Linked DNA regions of Homo sapiens: region 1 is linked to region 2. Evidence: promoter capture Hi-C in human tissues and cell types (Jung and others, 2019). All regions are on one chromosome and are shown on one strand. Each heading gives the region's core, a stretch centred on a gene start or on the middle of the fragment in contact. The rest is flanking DNA. Distances are from core to core; before and after follow the strand shown. Region 1 has its middle 48 kb from the start of DEFB136. Region 2 holds the start of NEIL2 (nei like DNA glycosylase 2).

Region 1 (2,700 bases), core at 13-2,512, 160 kb before region 2:
ATTATGCTGTTGTTTCTTACCATTTAGCATTTTCTATTTTTTTTCTTTCTTTTTTTTTTTTTTCTTTTTGAGGCAGAGTTTCACTCTTGTTGCCCAGGCTGGAGTGCAATGGCACGATCTCGGCTCACTGCAATCTCTGCCTCCCGTATTCAAGTAATTCTCCTGTCTCAGCCTTCCAAGTAGCTGGGATTACAGGCATGCGCTACCATGCCTGGCTAATTTTATTTTTTATTTATTTATTTATTTATTTTTTGGTATTTTTAGTACAGACAGTGGTTCTCCATATTGGTTAGGCTTGTCTTGAAGTCCCTACCTCAAGTGATCCGCCCGCTTCCACCTCCCAGTGTTCTGGGATTACAGGCGGGAGGGACCGCACCCAGCCACCACTTAGCATTTTCATTTTACATTTGTTGAAATTATAGATTTATACACACATTGATTGCTGCTTTGTTATACACTTGCATATACATAAGATGGGAAATAGAAAAGAATAAAATGGGCACAGTATCCCTGAAGTTTCACATTCCGAGACAAGTTAAAAATATTTGCTTTTTAGAAATTTGTTTCAATTGAGAAACTGTGGTATACACACACAATGAAGTATTATTCAGGCTAAAAAGGAATAAATAAAATTCTCTCCACTGCAGACAAAATGGATGAGATTGCAGGTCTGTATATGAAGTGAAATAAGCCAGGCACAGAATGACAACTATTTCATGTCCTCACTTCTATGTAGGATCAAAAAAGAAAATCTTGGCCAAGTGTGGTGGCTCAGGCCTGTAATCCCAGCACTCTGGGAGGCCGAGTCGTACGGATCACTTGAGGCCAGGAGTTCGAGACCCACCTGGCCAACATGGTGAAACCCTGTCTCTACTGAAAACACAAACAATTAGCCAGGCGTGGTGACGCATGCCTGTAGTCTCAGCTACTCGGAGGGCTGGGGCCCAAGAAGCGCTTGAACTCGGGAGGCGGAGCTTGCAGTGAGCCCGGATTGTGCCTGTGTACTCCAACCTGGGCAACAGAAAGAGACTCCATCACACACCTACACACAAAAGGAATCTCAGGAAGGTGGAGAGTATAAAGGGGGTTAGCAGATGCTAGGAAGAAAAGGGGTGGGATGGGGAATGAAGACAAGTGGATAATTGGGTCCCAAAATACAGAAAGATGGAATAAGTGAGTTCTAGTGTTTGATAGTACAGTATGAAAATTTTAGTTCACAAGAATTGCTTGCATATTTCCAGATGCTTTGGTAAGAAGCTTCCTCATTTTCTCATTATGCTGGTTTTTCAGCTATTCTCTTTCTGCTCTCGATATCGTGCTGGATTTTCTGTTTTTGGTTTTTTGTTTTGAGACAGAGTTTCACTTTTGTTGCCCAGGCTGGAGTGTAATGGTGCAATCTTGGCTCACCACAACCTCTGCCTCCTGGGTTCAAGCGATTCTCCTGCCTCCATCTCCTGAGCAGCTGGGGTTACAGGCATGCCCCAGCACGCTCAGCTAATGTTGTATTTGTAGTAGAGACGGGGGTTTCTTCCTGTCTGTCAGGCTGGTTTTGAACTCCTGACCTCAGGTGATCCACCCGCCTCGGCCTCCCAAAGTGCTTGGATTACAGGTGTGAGCAACTGTGCTCGGCCCATGCTGTATCCTTATCTGGTGTCTGTTGTTGTTTGTTTGTTCTGGAGCCCAGAAATAAGTTCTCACCTATATGTTCAAATGATTTTTAACATGAGTGCTAAGAAAACTCATTGGTGGAAAAGCAGCCTTTTCAAGAAATGGTGTTGGAGAAACTTGATTTCCACATGCAGAAGAATGAAGGTGGACCCTATGTCACACCAGGTGCAAAAATTAACACAAACTGGGTCAAAGCCCTAACCCCAAGTGCTGAAAGTATAATATGCCTAAAAGAAAACATTGGCCACGCTTTCATGACATCAGATTGGGCAATGCTGTCTGGGATATGACACCAAAAGCATAGGCAACAAAAGAAAATTAGATTCCTTGGATTACATCTAAATGACAGACACTTTTGTGCATCAGCAAACACTGTGAACTGTGAAAAGATAACCCATGGATTAGGAAAAATATTTGCAAATCATATCTCTGAAAAGAGGCTGATATGCGTCATATACAAAGAACAGCTAGAACTGAACAACAAGAAACTCAAAGCATCCCATTAACAATGGTCAGAAGACTCGAGTAGACACGTCGTTAAGAAGATATAGCAATAGCCAGTAAGCATCTAAAATGATATTCAAAATCACTCATCATAGGGAAGTGCAAATCAAACCAAGAATGTGATACCACACATTAGGATGGATATGATAAACAAACAAGCATTGGTGAGACGAGAGGGAAGTAGGAATGCTCGAATCTGATTGGAGGGAATGTAAAACCATGAAGGAACAGGGAAAATAGTATGGTGTATACTGGAAAAAGTAGAAACAGGATTATCAGATGTTCCCGCTGTTGCACTTGTGGGCACCTGCCAAAAGAATTAGAAGCCAGGAGTGGAAGAGAGATTTGTACACCCAAATTCATAGCAGCATTATTCACAAGAGCCAAAATGTGGAAGCAACCCAAGGGTTTGTGGACAGTTGAATGAAAAAGCACACTGCAGTTCCTTCATACAATGGAAGACTATTCTGCCTTAAAAAGGCAGGCACTTCTGTCCGGTGCGGTGGCTCACGCCTGGAATCCCAGCAT
Region 2 (2,700 bases), core at 56-2,555:
CCGACTTATTTCCCACTTTTGAAGGGACCAGATGCCGCCCTCCAGGACCGCCGACCACTAGCGTGGGGGAGGTGTGCATGAAACGACCAACACGCAGACAGAGCTCAGAATCATAAGTGAGACCCCCAGCCACGTAGGTAAGCCCGGCATAGCTACAGACAGTTATCTCTGATCCCCGAGAAACAGCTGTGGTTCTGTTCTAATCACCACGCAGGGCTCCCAGGGCCACCTCTACTCTCCCTGCCCCCAAATCATCCCAGTCCACTGACAGCCGCCTACATGAGGCAGTCTGAGTGGTGTACACCCGGGCTGTTCGGGCAGAGGAGACTCCCAGCCTCACCCGGGGCAGCTGCCTAACCACCTGTTCCTGCACCAGCCTCTCTATAAGTTATGATGAAAATCGAAAAGAACTAAGTAGATATCGGGCAGGGGGTAGCTATTATATTTCAGTGATTCTAAAAAACATTTTAGAATACTTTTAAAATCTAAGAAATGGTGACGGCTCACAATCTCGGCATTCTCATATTCGGCAGCAGCACATTCAATAACGCGCATCTTACACTCGCTGGTGCCGATTCGCTGAGATGTACTATTTCCCCTCATCAGGCTTTCCAGACACTCCCCAGGGAATCCTGACAAAACCGCCAGGCTGGAAGGAGACGTGCCAAACGCTGCTGACCTTAACCAGTTGGATGCCTGATCCTCTTCTACGGGGAAGCTTCTGGAAAAGCCTTCATCTGAAATGCACCAAGTCCTGAAAATCTCCGGACACGTGGGCATGTTTCGTTTAGGGATTTTTATGGAGATGGACAGGTGGGAAGCAAGCCGCCTCTGCAACAGCCTTGAAAGATGAGACGCGGAAGGGACTTCGAAGAGTCGCTGAAGATGCCGCGCCCACCCTCCGGCCCTCCCTGCCCGGGGGCTACCGAGGAGCTCGAGGCTGGCGCTGCGCCAGCCAGGGAAGAGGAGGGGTTGTCTCCGCCGTTCTCTTCCGAGTGCCCGAGGTGGGGGGTCTAAGACCACTGCTTTCCCAACTCTGCCTCGGGGTGCGGGGAGAGGGGCGCAGACGCGGGTCTGAGGGTCAGTGGGGGCCTCCAGGCGTGGGCAGCACCTCCGCAGGCGGCTGAGACGGAGGAGGGCCCGGGGCCCGCCCTCCCTTCCTGTCCCCTCCCGACTTCTCCGCCAGGCCGCAGATCTACCGGAGGGCGGGCGGCTGCACTCACCGGCTCCGGGTGGGTGGCACGTCGGCCCGACCCAGCACCGCTACGCAGCCCGCACAGCCGCTCCAGCTGGGGGCGGAGATTTCCCGGCTCGGCGGCCCATGCGGCCTCCGTCCCCTTAGGGGACGCCCCTGTAGGTGGAGGCTGCGGGGCTCCTCCCCCAAGTGGGCGTGGACTCCGGCCTGGAGGGGGTGGCGGGGTGCGCGCAGGCGCAGGGCTCATTCCCTGGAAAGTGGGTCTAGGTCGAGGCTGCTCTTTTGTGGGTGGGCGAGGGGTTCCATCCCGGGGGTCGCTGGAGGCAGGGCTGCATTAGAGGGTCGCGAGTGAAAGCAGGGATGGAAGAAGGGTGCAGGCTGGGACTAACATTGGAGAGACGCTCTTGGAAACTTTTTTTTTTTGCGGGGGGAGATAGTCTCGCTGTGTCACCCAGGCTGGAGTGCAGTGGCGCGATCTCGGCTCACTGCAACCTCCGCCTCCTGGGCTTAAGCCATTCTCCTGCCTCAGCCTCCCGAGTAGCTGGGATTACTGGCGCCCGGCTAATTTTTGTATTTTTAGTAGAGACCGGGTTTCACCATGTTGGCCAGGCTGGTCTTGAACTCCTGATCTCAGGTGAGCCGCCCTCCTCGGCCTCCCAAAGTGGTGGGATTACAGGCGTGAGCCACCGCACCCGGCCCTTTTGGAACATTTCTTGTCTCAAGGAGACAGTTATAGGGAAAAGTCAATGGGTGTGTGAATGGGACAGCCTGGGTGTTCCCACAATGGCAAGCCTTTCTGTGGGTTCTGCTTGGCCTCCGAGCCTAATGAAGTCGGGTGCAAAGGAAACAGGTGTTCAAGACTCGTGAAATGTTGAACGGGTGGGATTTTTTTGCTTTCTATTATTTGAATTTTATTACTTGAATTTTTACTATAAGCAAATTTTGCTTAAAGTATTTGTGTATTAAATTTTTTATTTCATAGAATAAAAGAGATAAAACAATAGGCTGTTTAAAGATACATATGTTTTCTTGTCTTTAGTTCTCGAAGGAGGATGGGGAGCCAGCACTTTCCAGGAAGTTGGGAGGAAAGTCTGGGGAACTCCCCAGCAGGTGTTCAGGAAATAGGCTGGGGTGAAGTCACCATGGACCCTAGCTGAGGGGTCCCTGGGGAAGGACTTGGTCAGCACAGGGAAACAAGCCCAGCCCACCGTCAGAGACATGGTTGTGTCCTACTGATTGAGAGGGAGGTTACAAGTGGCCTTCCCACAGTGGTCACCTACTGAACAGGCTAGGGCAGGAGGTGAGGAGAGGGAGGCCTGGGGAGGCCTAGGGTATAGGGTCCTCATCTAGAAAGGCATCTGGAGGCAGAGGGGATGAGGTTGGAGGGCATGGGGTTTGCAGGAGGCATCCCTTGAAGAGCCTCTGGTCCCCCTCTTTCTATGTCCGGCCTTTTCTGGAGAATAACGACCCCCCCACCCCCAGGATGCCCCTGCTATAGGATCAGG

What was found. Contacts are between HindIII fragments. The study calls those that stand out against the background at their distance.
Region 1: a fragment that was not itself captured here is called in contact with the fragment with the promoter of NEIL2 in region 2 in 5 of the 25 tissues and cell types used here (H1 embryonic stem cells, aorta, lymphoblastoid cells and 2 more).

The regions. Positions count from the first base shown.
Region 1 is chr8:11,925,027-11,927,726 of GRCh38, reverse strand. No RefSeq gene overlaps it. Among named protein-coding and RNA genes, the nearest start is that of DEFB136, 48 kb to the left of the region's middle. The HindIII fragment of the contact is 7,723 bases long and covers 1-2,700 here.
Region 2 is chr8:11,768,315-11,771,014 of GRCh38, reverse strand. It overlaps NEIL2 (nei like DNA glycosylase 2), which reads right to left and starts at 1,305. Exons shown (of 5, transcript NM_145043.4): 1 at 680-1,305. It overlaps LOC124901888 (a long non-coding RNA gene), which reads left to right. Exons shown (of 2, transcript XR_007060824.1): 1 at 1-137; 2 at 607-2,213. RefSeq lists silencers at 915-1,044, 1,085-1,494 and an enhancer at 655-1,155. The HindIII fragment of the contact is 20,018 bases long and covers 1-2,700 here.